Regions from separate parts of the Homo sapiens genome. Here region 1 is linked to region 2. Evidence: promoter capture Hi-C in 16 types of primary human blood cells and fetal thymus (Javierre and others, 2016). All regions are on one chromosome and are shown on one strand. The core of a region is centred on a gene start or on the middle of the fragment in contact, and the rest is flanking DNA. Distances in the headings are between cores, read along the strand shown. Region 1 overlaps LINC01727 (long intergenic non-protein coding RNA 1727). Region 2 holds the start of XRN2 (5'-3' exoribonuclease 2).

Region 1 (6,443 bases), core at 1,051-3,550, 270 kb after region 2:
ATTTACAAATGATATATATGTATATTATATATTCGTTTCTATATGTTACACAGAGATGTAGACATGTAGAAATATACATTACATGTGCACATATGAAGTGTATGACTTATAAATAAGCATAAAATATATTTTGTATGGCATATATGTGTATATATTTTATATTTACAAATGTAAAAATATTTTAAAACTTTATATAAATATATAAAAATATAATACATTTAATTCTATGCTTTATACAATATGTTTATATAAAGTTTATGCTTATATTGATAATATATTTTTATGTACTATATAAAGTCTGAAAATATATTGTATAAGGTTTATTTTTATTTTTATTTATTTATTTTTGAGACAGGGTCTTGCTCTGTTGCCCAGGCTGGAGTGCAATGGCACAGTTCACTGCAGCCCCGAACTCCTGGGCTCAAGGGATCCCCCCACCTGAGCCTCCGAAGTAGCTAGGACTACAGGTGCAAGTTGCCATGCCTGGCTAATTTTTTGTAGAGACAGGATCTCCCTGCGATGCTCAGGCTAGTCTTGAACTACTGGGTTCAAGCAATCCTCCTGTCTTGGCCTCCCAAAGTGCTTGAATTACAGGTGTGAGCCACACACCCGGCCTGAGGTTTTTAAACACAAAGTGATCTGACTGTTTTACCGCTGCATGCTGTTGTGCAGTGTGGAAATAATCTGATTTGTTTGATTTTTCTCCCCTACAGATGGACATTTAGATGCCTTTCATTTTTCTTCCATTGCAAGAATACTTTGTACATATATGTGAGTTTTTCTATAAGAAACACTTCCAGCTTTTCATTTAAGTCAGAGACTCAAATCTGAAATGCAAAAGCTTGTAAAACTGTGAAGTGTTAAAAATCATCCCGCCAAAGGAGTGAGGTGAAGGGAAGTTTTATAAAATTGGAATGGAAGGAAAAGGCTGGACAGGAGTGGGATGGCGTGGCTGAGAGGGAGATAGGAGGCTGGGTATGGATGAGGAGTGGGAAGTGTGGGATGGCGTGGCTGAGAGGGAGATAGGAGGCTGGATATGGATGAGGAGTGGGAAGTGTGGGATGGCGTGGCTGAGAGGGAGATAGGAGGCTGGGTATGGGTGAGGAGTGGGAATTGGGAACACCGTTTTCACCTAAAGCTGTATTCAGGGCCTGGGGTTTTTGTTTTTGTATTTATTTAGAAAATAGATAAAACTTCTATCTGGTTCAAAATTCGACAACAACAGAAAGGTGTTAGATCTCATCTTCCTTATTCTTCTGTCTTCCAGCCGCTCCGTTCTCCCCAGCAGAGCCAACTAAAGTAATCAGCGTCTTCTGTATCCTTCCACAGATAGTACATGCATAAGCAAAAAGAAAAAAAAAAGTTTCTTTCTCTTTCTCATTTTCCCTTCAAAAACCACCAATAATTGTACCTGACATACATAGCCTGCCCCTTTTCTTCATTAAATAATGGGAGATTATGTCATTAGGAAGAAACAGATTTCTTCATTCTCTCTGCCTGGCATTCCATTATGTGGATGAGGTGTTATTTATTTAAGCAGTCCGCACCTGAAGGACATCTTGGTTGGTTCCAATCTTTGCTATGACAACAGTGCCACAATGAGTAGCCTTGTACAACTGTCATTATGTGCATGTGTGGGGACACATGTAGGATACAGTCCTGGTAGTGGAATTCCTGTCTCAGAGGGTTTTTTAAAAAGAACTGCAAGTTGCCGTCTGTGGAAGCCTTGCCAGTTTGTACCCTTGTGTGTTCTGCTTCACCTCTACCAGCACCGGAGTCACTGAGCGTTATGTTATTTGCCAACTGGATAAGTGAAAAATGGTATCTCAGGGCACGTTATGGGACATGTTAAAGTATAAGTGCAGCCAAATATCTTTTCAAACACTGATGAGGGGCCCTGGAGTTTTAGTGCCTTTCTTTAGAGGAATTTTAGGTGCTGGTCTTACTGACTCGGAGCCTCTTCCTCAATCTGCATCGCCTTAGCTGACCCCAGTGCACTTTAGGGCATTACGTGGATTTGGGGTTTTCTCATCCTGCTCTCCTTCCTTTGGGAGTGGCCTCCAAGGCAGCTGTCTTCCCATTCCCCTTGCTTCCCTCCTATCTCCGTCTCAGCCACGCCATCCCACTCCTGTCCACAAGCCGGGTGCATGAGCCATTCCAGAGGGACTTTACCTTGCTGGAATAAGCGTGGTAAGGGGCCTGGGTGTTGTGGTCCTCCCTCCTTGGGCTCTGGTGCTCTGGTTCCCAGACTGTGACCCACGATCCTCTCGCGTCCAATGTGCGTGACCTCTCCGTCCGATAGCACAAGCAATTCTCAAACAGCCACTTGAGCTGGACGCCCCCGGACATGCCCTGCACTTTTCCAGCTTTACATCCTGGCCTGTGTTGCCCCCTCCATGTGTGATGCCCTCCTTGAGTCCGGCATGGGTGCACGGCTGCCCGCTCCAGCAGGTCAACCCTCGGGCCCATGAACTTCCCCTACACAAGCTCTTGTGGCACCAACTGTCTTCCTAGGTGGTGGCCACACCAGGAAACATTTCCCAGCCTCTCATTGCTCTTGAAAATTGTATCATCAAATAGCAGCACATGTTAAACAGTTAAGAAGAAAATTAACATGCAAAATTAACAGAAGAAGAAAGAGAAAATGCAATCTGCCCAAAGCTGTTCTTGACAATTTTTGGAGTGATTTAATGTTATTTTAAGTTTTATGAAGAAAGTACAATCTTATCAATATTTGTATCTTGCTATTTCATATTCACTGCAATTTAATATGTAAAAGTTACCACAGGGACACTAAGTGGTAAAGAGTTAATGGTCTTCCCTGATTCCCACTGCCTGAGGCCAAATTTCCATCCACGCCAAGCATGCTTTTCAGCATCTCCACCTTCAACTGCTGTTATCTGTCTGCCCTAGCTTCTTCCAGCGCCCCAGGGAAAAAGCTGCATCACATTTTGGAGGGAAATAAAGAAAGAGAACTAAAGACCTATTGGATTTCAGCCTTTGGTTGGTGGTTAATAACCTAGATAGCTCAGGCATTTTCCAGGCTGGAGTGCAGTGGTGCCATCATAGCTTACTGCAGCCTCGAATGCCTGGGCTCAAGCAATCCTCCTGCCTCAGCCTCCTAAGTTGCCTAGTTAATTTAAAAAATATTTTGTAAAGACAGGGGCTTCACTATGTTGCCCAGGCTGGTCCCAAACTCTTAGCCTCAGGAGATCCTCCTGCCTTGGTATCCCAAAGTGTTAGGGTTATAGGCCTGAGCCACTACACTTGGCCCAAGAATTTAATTAAAGAGGTGGGATGAGCAAAGAGTTCCTGGAGGGAAGCTAGCTTTCACCTGCCTTCCTGCTACCTGGAAGGTGCTGTTTATGAATTCAGGATTCATCTGTCCACATTGATGGTTTTCTTAGCTTGTGAGGTTACTGAAACACCATTATTACAGATAGAAAACTTTCCCCAGTGGCCCCTTGAGACAGGTTGAATAATGTCACTTAATCTCTATAACCTTCCTCTTAAATAGGCATGGTCACTCTCTCTTTTAATGATGAGAAAAACGGGAGAAGAGAAGTCCATAGAAGGATGGAAACTTGGCCTCAGGCGGTGGGGCTCAGGCCCCTGCTCTGTTCTGGTTCCATGCACTTAGTGGATGGGAAGACCACTAACTCTTTACCACTTAGTGTCACTGTGGCAGCTTTTACACATTGAATTGCAGTGAATATGAAATAGCAAGATACAAATATTAATACAATTGCACTTTCTGCATAAAGCTTAAAATAAAGTGAAGTCACTCAAAAAAAGGTCAAGAACAGCTTTGGGGCAGATACCTTCCTTCCTTCCTTCCTTCCTTCCTTCCTTCCTTCCTTCCTTCCTTCCTTCCTTCCTTCCTTCCTTCCTTCCTTCCTTCCTATGGAGATATTGTTACAGGGAGGCCTATGGGATCCTGCCTAACTAGTTTTGGAGGCAAATGCTATGTGGGGGCTTGTAGGAGGCAGCGCTGTGCTTGCTGGAGTTAAGCTCTAACCTGAGTTGGGTTTGCATCCAGCTGCTGGTTGGTCCAGGGAGGTCTCCAGCTGCTGCTTGGAAACCAACAAAAACAGTAGTGAGTTCCAGAAACGTTGGAGTAAGGTGGTGACTTGGTGATAAAAAGTATTTCTGGAGGAAAGGGAAAACACTCCCATTTTATTATCTGTGAAATCTGGTGGCCAATGAAACCACTTCCCACTGACTTGGGTGGGGAAGGCAGATACTTAGATTCACGTTCCCAAAGGAGAACATTATGCAATGGAAGATGTAGCTTCACAGTATATCCCACTCTGTCAGGACTCTGTGCTGCATATAAACTCTGATGTGAAAAGCATTCTTCCTCCCTGGGATTGTGCAGTTCCCAGGCTGGGCAGCTGTATACTCTAGCCCTGGATAGGTTGATTTGTTTAAGGAAGGCTGTTTGCTAGCAGGTATACAGAGATAATGCATTTTATATGCAGAGTTAGTCTCTTTTAAAAAGAGAAAGCTGAAAAAGCCTGAAGACATAAAAAACAATCTATTCACTCCTGCGCCTCTCCCTTCTGCAGACACAGAACTTCCCTGGCAGCTCTGATCTGGGGGCTTCCTGTAGGTGCAAAGACCTGGTTCTTCAGACTCCATCCATGGAAGGAGGGAACACCAGTCACGGGGAGGTGGGCTCTGCACTGGGTTCCAGACACAGCAAAACAGGGCCTGGCATAGGTAGGAAGGGGAAAAGGAGGCCCTAGTCAAAGGGCAGGGCAGCCTCAAAGTTGACCCCAAGGCTGGGACCAGGGGGTACTTCTGCTCCTTTCTGTACCCAGAGTCAAAAGAAACAGTTCATTCCTCTTAACCCTTTCATTGAATCCTCCCCGCAACTTGGCACCCCTGAAACCACATAGAGAAATCACTTCTGTTGTAAACCCTTTCTTGGTGGCCCCCTGTGGCAGCAATGACTTAAAGCCTCATCACTCATGATAGTTGTGTTCTATAAAGCTGCCACGAACACTGAACTAGTAGACGCTGAATCGTTGCTCCTAGGAGAAGCATAGGGTTAGATTCCTGCTGGCCTCTGGTCATGTTTTGTCAGCTGATCGGTACATAACATCATTCTATGTATGTTTCTGTTGACAGATGCCTTGTTGGTGGTATAGTGTGAATCCATTAGCACTGAACTCAGGACCAGCAATGGTGTGACTCAGGCCTGAAGGAAGCTTTTCTAGCACATGGATTTCCTCTGTAAGGCACCTCACAGCCTCTCGTGCCTGGGAACTCTAGCCAGCACTGTAGCACGATGCCTAGGGCCATTATAAATGTGAAATCACCAAAGAAACCCCACAAAAATGTGAAAATCACGGCACTAAATAGACCACAAAAAGGATGCTTGTTTGACTGCAAACAAGTATGAGAACTGGAACCAGAAAGTAGGATGTCATCTTGTTCTTCCTTAGCACTGGATGACTCAAATTTCTCTCCACTCTGCCAGTGTCTTTGAATGACCAGGAAATTGCTGGGAATATTGATTTTGGGATAACAAATAAATTTTATCGACTAGCTGAATTTGCAAATATGGAGTCCACAAATAATAAGGGTTGTTTGCATCTTGAGTTAATTGCCATTTAAAAACAATGTCCTTTTCCAGTTTGTTCATTCATCGTGGTCCAGGTCTCAAAAGTGATTCCTCCCAGGGGTCAGGTGGGCAGTGCCAGGGTCTGGTGGTGACTCAGGTGGAACAGAGGTCACTGGCCTTGTCCAAAGGAGGCTGCAGCTCCTTTCCTCCTGCAAGCTTGGTAGGGGTTGGGGCCTCATCAATTTTTCTTGGGAGGGGCCCATAGTGGCATCTGTGTGAGTGTGGCCAGGGATGTCTCTGGAAGAGGGGGTTGCAGACTGAGATTTTCTGTTTATTTGGAGGGTGAATTTGGGGTGCTGAAGGGCACTGGGGTGTCTAGGGCTTCCTATGTCTTCCCTTAGTGCTACCTCTGGGACTCCATTTTGTCAGAGTTCCTGATATTTCATGAGAAAGCTGGAAATCCAGGTTTTTTTTTTTTTTAATCAGAAATGTCAGGATTTAAAAATATAAGCAGCTAACTAAAAATTCAAAAATCCCTAACCATTGTGCAAGCCAAATGAAATAGGCATAATAAACATGAGCTGCTATGTTCCTAGGTGCCTGGTCAGCTGGGATACAGGTGAGGGGCTGACGGCAGGTGCAGGTGACCCCCTTGCCCACTGCCTGTCCATTCCATGTGTTGTTGCTTGGACCCATTAACATTGTCTGCCTCATATTTCTGTTTGAAGAAAGTTCTGCTACGTGGGTGAGTCTTGTCTATATTGAGAGCAGGGTTGAGCTGCAGTCAGTTATAAAGTCTACCTTCAGTGGGATATTATAAGGGTTCACATGAATTGAATTAACAACATTTTTATATCTGAGGCTACACAATCCT
Region 2 (6,529 bases), core at 4,030-6,529:
GAAAGATCCTGTCTGAAAAAGAAAAAAGAATGAACGCACGAGAGAAAGAAAAAGAAAGAAAGAAGGAAATAAAGAAAGAAACAGAGAGAGAAAGAGAAAGAGAGAGAGAGGAAGGAAGGAAGGAAGGAAAGAAGGAAGAAAAGAAAGTTAATACTAGCTGGGGAGTGGCAAAATGAGGCCTGTTAGATTATTAAATTGTCCAAAATAAGTGGAACATGCTAATAAAATTGTGAGGCTTCTTCAAAGCAAACAGTGTGGAGCACAACAGATAGCCATACAATGGTGATCACTTCCTGGTTCTTAGCAAGTTTTGGCCTGTGCACTGGGCATGGTATCACTGAATTTTCACAGAAAACCTATGAAGTCTATGATCCTCATTTTACAGATGAAGAAACTGAAGCTTAGAGAGGTGAAGCATCTTGAAAATGCATTAGTCAGAATTCTCCTGAAAAACAGGACCAATAGGATGTGAGAAGGTTTTATTTGAAGAAATTGGCTCACACGATTGTGGGGGCTTGATGAGTCCAAAATCTGATGGGGTAGGCCAGCAGGCTGGAGACCCAGGGAAGAGGTGCATCTGCTGGCAGAATCCATTCTTGCTCAGGGAAGGTCAGTCTCAGGGGCTGTAGTGCTGCAGTGTCCACTTTCAGGTGGTGCCTGCACATCATGCAGAACCACCTGTAAACCAGCCCTGAGCTTTCTCTTCTCTACATTAAACCCAAGTAGGCCTGGCATTTCTCACTCACTCACTGTGGTCTACCTTTTGGTCCATGTTTCAGTCAACCAACCCATCAGTTATAGCACTAACTCCCTGAGTTGCAACATTAAATGCAGAAATCTTGCTCAATCGGCCCCTATCAATATATTCAGCCTGATTCAATTTTATGTTTCTTCCATCTTTATCCCACACCTTTAATTTCCATTCTCACACATATTCCCTGAATTTCTGACTAAATAAGAAAACTCAAGTAGTTCTTTTGGAGTGTAGTATGCCTCATGGATCACATTTCATGCCTCACCTTTTGGGACTGCTAGGACTTGAGTCTAGTTAAAGTTCTAGAAGCCAAGAGGGGTAATGGGGGTGTGTCCTGAGGAGAATCAGCATTGTCTTGCGAGACAACTGTATCAGGTGAGGTCATGATAGATTCCTTAAGCAATGAAAGGTTAGTTCCCTCAGGTGGGGGTGGAGAGGATATATCTACTGGGGTGGAGAAAATGCTTCTACGGGCAAAGATGACTCATTGGAACTTATGAATTCAATGTCCCCAGTGCCATCAAGGTCTTTCCATATGCCCCCATTCCAACTTTCAGGATCCAATTCGTTCCCAATCAATGCCCTCACTTTAGAAGTAGACAACCTGCAAAGTCAAAAATTCAATCTGCACTTTAATTCAGCCACTTACAGGATGTGATTCGGAGTTGATTTTTAACAATCTTGGCTCTGCAGCTATAGGAGATAAGGGTCTCTTTCAGGGCAGAAATAGAAAGTTTCAGGTCACTTATGTTATACTTGAGCTGGGAATTTGAATCCCTGAGCTCATCCTTTTCTTTTCCCACTTTGTCCAGCAACATTAGGGGCAACCAATCTCATTATACTTGTTATTTTGGCAAATATGTTATAAAGTATCATACGCATGGTCACCCAGATCCTGCTTCTTTTTAGTTTTGGTAATATTTTGTGTAATTCTACTACTTCATCATGCCATAGACTATCAAGTGTTTTATTTACTACTGGAAAGTCATTCCTGTTTTTAATCTAATCAGACTAGAGAACCACTTCCAGAAACCTCAGAACCAATTACAAAAATGCATCCCTAAGATTCCGTTCCGCTTGAACCACTTCTAGTACCAGAATCTGTAGCTGTCAGCGTTCTCTAGAGACATGGAATCAACATGTGGGCATATACAAAGACATTTATTATAAGGATTTGGCTCACGTAACTATACAGACTGGCTAATCCAAATCTGCAGTGTAGGCCAGCAGATTCAGGACTCAGGAGGCAGATTACATCTCAAGGCAGTTGGCTAGAGAATTCCCTCTTGCTTGGGGGCCAGACTTTTTGTTCTATTCAGGCCTTCAACTGATGAAATGAGGTCCACTCACATTATGGAGGGCAATCTGCTTTACTCTACTGATTAAAAATGTTTATCTCAACCCAAAATGGCCACAATTACTGTTTTAAATACATCAGGTTATTCACAATGAATTTTGTAAGGATAAAGAAGGAAAGGAATCACTTGGTAGAAGGACCAATAGTAGGCAAAAAAAAACTGAGAATTTTTTTCTATGATAATTACAATGTTAATGGGGCTTAAAAATGAATTGATGAATATTTAAAAACATCCTAGTTTCCACATATTATATATTTTTCATATTGTTTTTCACATTAATGTAATCCAGATACTAGCTGTGGCCTTCCTCTCTCCCTTTGAGATCTGGGCAAAAATGTTTCAAAACCTCTGGGTTCTCTGCCTGTATAAGTCCAAAGTCTGGTTCAGTATTTCTGCTAATTTATTTTCTTTTTTTTTTTTTTTTTTTTTTTAGATAGCTTCTCGCTCTGTCACCCAGGCTGTAGCACAGTGGTGCAATCATAGCTCACTGCAGCCTTAAACTCTTGGGCTCAAGTGATCCTCCTGTCTTAGTCTCCCCATTTGCTAGGATTACAGATGTGAACCACCACACCTGGCCTCCCTGCTAATTTCCAACACTAATAAATTCTCACCTCTTCTGCTTCTAGAGGTCTGCTATGTTGCCCACCCCGTGGTGGTTCCAAACCACAGTGACCCCAACTGGAGACTTTTTATTTGATTTCTACAAGAAAAACCCATACCAAGCCTGAGTCTGACAGGCTTTACTGGACACATTGGGCCAGGGAAAGTGTCACAATACTTAGTCCATATCCTCCTGCCGCCTTTCAAGTTTCTTCTCTCTTTTACCCACTCCTTCTCTGAGTGCCAAAACTCCAATTTTAGTACTTCTATGCAAACCAATTTCACCACCCAGGTGAATTAGCTTGCACTCCCCAAATTTTGTTACTGGACTCTTTCCTTTGTAAGGGATAAGAATTTAGCCCAAGCCAGCTTAGGGCAAAAGGAAACTTTTGGCTGGGAGTGGTGGCTCACACCTGGAATCCCAGCACTTTGGGAGGCCAAGGCGGGCGGATCACAAGGTCAAGAGATTGAGACCATCCTGGCCAACATGGTAAAACCCCATCTCTACTAAAAATACAAAAATTAGCCGGGCGTGGTGGCGCACATTGGTAGTCCCGGCTACTTGGGAGGCTGAGGCAGGAGAATCGCTTGAACCTGGGAGGTGGAGGTTGCAGTGAACCGAGATGGTGCCACTGCACTCCAGCCTGGCAACAGAGTGAGACTCTGTCTTAAAAAAAAAAAAAAAAAAAAATTTGGCTCACAGAATCAAAGGACAGACTTAATCAAACTGCAGGAAGAGAGGGATTTAACTGGAACCAGGGAATTAACCCTGCTTCTCTCATTGCCTACTGGCAACAAGTCCCAATTCTTATCTTTTAGCGTTCACGCACTGGAAAGATGCAGTCTTAAATTTCTTATGGTTCAAAGCTCAAAAATGCTGGTAAGGCTGGGTGCAGTGGCTCACACCTGTAATCCCAGCACTCTGGAAGGCCGAGGTGGGCAGATCACCTGAGGTTAGGAGTTCGAGACCAGCCTGGCCAACATGGTGAAACCCTGTCTCAACTAAAAACACAAAAATCAGCGGGGTGTCATGGCAGGCGCCTCTAATCCCAGCTACTCGGGAGGCTGAGGCAGGAGAATCGCTTGAACCCGGGAGGTGGAGGTTGCAGTGAGCCTGGATCTTGCCACTGCACTCCAGCCTGGATGACTGAGACTCCGTCTGAAAAAACAAAAACAAAACAATAAACCCTCCCAACCCGCCAAAATGCTGGTTAAGGATTCTAAATGGCTCAACTTGGCCAGCTGTCTATCCCTGAACTGCCTATGGTGTACATGTTCCTATAACAGCACCTCCCAGGGAAACCAGAGGGGCTGCTTCCAGGTAAAAGGAGGAATTTCACCATAGACATAATACTTTGGAATAGTTTTGGCTATCCTTAAGTAAAACACGGGATGACTATTTCTCTAATTTCCACACTAGTAGTTTAAACAAAGTAGTCATCAGACCACAGAGGAGGGGGCAATAAATACTGCCTGTGAGGTAACTCGGCGAAATACTTTCACAGAGGCCTCATGAGGTGAGCATTTAGCATCGTGTGTGATGTGTGTCAAACCAAGAGGGGATTCAGGGAGACTTCCAGGCTTGAGCAAACGGACAAATATACCTCCTCTTCCAGACCTCTCCTTTCATATGGAAAAAATTCGTTTGGGACCACCAGAAAACAAAAGATAAAAGTATCGTGTTAGAACAAGGATGGATTAAAAATGACCTTTGCTTGAACTGAAACAGAAGCTATGTGCATAAGTGACTTAACTCCTCTGTAACTTGGCTTTCTTATCATTTACACGAGGGTGCTAACAGTACCCTCACAAGGTTCAAGTGAAGATTACATAGGACAATCCCTTAGTCAATGTCTTGGTACACTGTAAAGGCTCAGTAAATGCTGGAAAATCATATTAGCAACTATTTTATACCCGTAATTGTAGCTGGAAGATTGTATTGGATGCTAAATACCGGCTAGATTCCATTCGGTAACTATCATAATTATTTATTTGCATAACAATCAAATTATTGGTGCAAAGCAGCCATTATTACTGTAAAATGCTTTAAAATGCTCCTTTTGATAGTCCAGGTACGTACTGCAGCACAAAACTAGGAGAAACCAGGAAATGGAAGTAACGAGTAAGTTTGGATGCTTCGATTCTACCCTAGATTGAGACGGGTGAGCATAGAGGCAAAAAAAGACATTTTCTTCCAAACAAGAGGTGACCAAACGGGCAAGGGAGACCTCCTCCCGGGCATGCAGAGCGCAGCGATTCTGTGCCCAGGGAGCCGGAGGGCTGGGGCTGGGAGATCCCGGCGGAGCCCCGGCAGAGCAGTCGCCCGTGAGCCCCCGCAACTCAGACGCGCTCGGCCTCGCGCTCCGGGGCTGGGACCACCGAGGGCGAGCTGCAGCCTTCGCCACCCGGTCCGCCGCCGGACTCCGCCTCCCACAAACAGCCCGGCAAGGCCCTTTTCCGCCGCTCCCTCATCCAGCGAAGCCTCCTTCCCAGCTTCCCCGGCGGCGGCGCCGTGACGTCACTTCCGTTCTCCAGCGCGCACGTGGGAGGAAGTGCTGGTGCCCTCTGCCGCTGCTCCCGTCTCTTTGGTTACGCTCGTCAGCCGGTCGGCCGCCGCCTCCAGCCGTGTGCCGCTATGGGAGTCCCGGCGTTCTTCCGCTGGCTCAGCCGCAAGTACCCGTCCATCATAGTCAACTGCGTGGAAGAGAAGGTGAGGAGGCGCCAGGCGGCCGCCACACTCGAGCCCGGGCCCCCGGCACGTCTAGGCCGCGGCCCATGGGCTCCGCCGCCTGCCCCCGGGGAGCCTTGCCGGAGCTCGCGCCCTGCTGCCAGCCTCGCGAGCAGTCGCAGCCCCACACGCGATGGGACGCGGGCTGTGGGATTCAGCACCCCGGGGGCGAGGAATTCAGGACCCTCGGCGGGGCAAGGGCCTATAGGGTTCCGAACTCGCAGGAGGGTCGCTCCTCCCCTACTCGCTTTTTCCCGGCACCGGAAGGCCCCGCCCACTGCTTTGTTTCCTCTCCAGACCGCGCATTTTGGGTCTCGGAAGAGGTTCAGAGGCTGTTGTTGAGCAATGCATGCCAGGTCAGCTGAGCTAGCGGGTTATGGATGCACGGATTCGGAGGCCAGCTTTTTGACAACCTTGTAAAGGAATCCCTGGCGGCGACCTTTTCGTTGTTTACCAATTGTGCCGGAAAGGTTTTCTCCTAGTGTTCAGGACCATTTGTTGTTCTGGTTAGATTGGACGCTGAAAGCAGTATGTCAGGTCCAGGATGAGCGCTATAGAATTCTGAGAAGTTACCCTTCTCTGTGTGCCCTGACTACTGAACGGGGTGGGTGCTTGTTGAAAATTTCAAGATTACTGGATGTACTTGAGCAGTACAATTTTTGTTGTTAGTTAATACGTAAGTAGATTTTTGGCCATTATTGAGTTTTGTTTTTATTGTTTTCGTCATTCCATGCGGATTCGATTTTGTGCTCTTAATTAGAATTTCTGGATTGGAAACGTTCAGAGGCACATCACGCGTACCTCACTCCTTAGTTTTTGAAGGCAGTGCTTGCCTGTCACTGTGAACTTATTTCTGCTTTTTTTTTTTTTTTTAACTTTCTTGGCTTCTATCCAAGGAGGAACCAAAAGCCTTGTCTTAGTGACATTCCCACTATTTCTTGTTTTTTTCAAAAAGCAACTGCTAAATTGAATACTTGTTTCCTTTGTAAAATTTTAATCGAACTTTATTGAACTTTACTTGCACGTGGGTTAAACAAAAAGCAACAGTTCTTGCTCTACCCCTTCTCATCCCATTTCTCCACCTTTAAC

What was found. Contacts are between HindIII fragments. The CHiCAGO score rates a contact against its expected background, and 5 or more counts as called.
Region 1: a fragment that was not itself captured here is called in contact with the fragment with the promoter of XRN2 in region 2 in 1 of 17 cell types (naive CD4 T cells); the score reaches 5.4 in naive CD4 T cells.

Annotation. Positions count from the first base shown.
Region 1 is chr20:21,572,462-21,578,904 of GRCh38, forward strand. The region is part of intron 1 of LINC01727 (long intergenic non-protein coding RNA 1727); the gene reads left to right. Among named protein-coding and RNA genes, the nearest start is that of LINC01727, 5.7 kb to the left of the region's middle. RefSeq lists an enhancer at 1,791-2,291. The HindIII fragment of the contact is 2,923 bases long and covers 840-3,762 here.
Region 2 is chr20:21,298,052-21,304,580 of GRCh38, forward strand. XRN2 (5'-3' exoribonuclease 2) reads left to right here and starts at 5,280. Exons shown (of 30, transcript NM_012255.5): 1 at 5,280-5,422. The coding sequence starts at 5,348. RefSeq lists a silencer at 4,978-5,107 and an enhancer at 5,828-5,877. The HindIII fragment of the contact is 6,284 bases long and covers 399-6,529 here.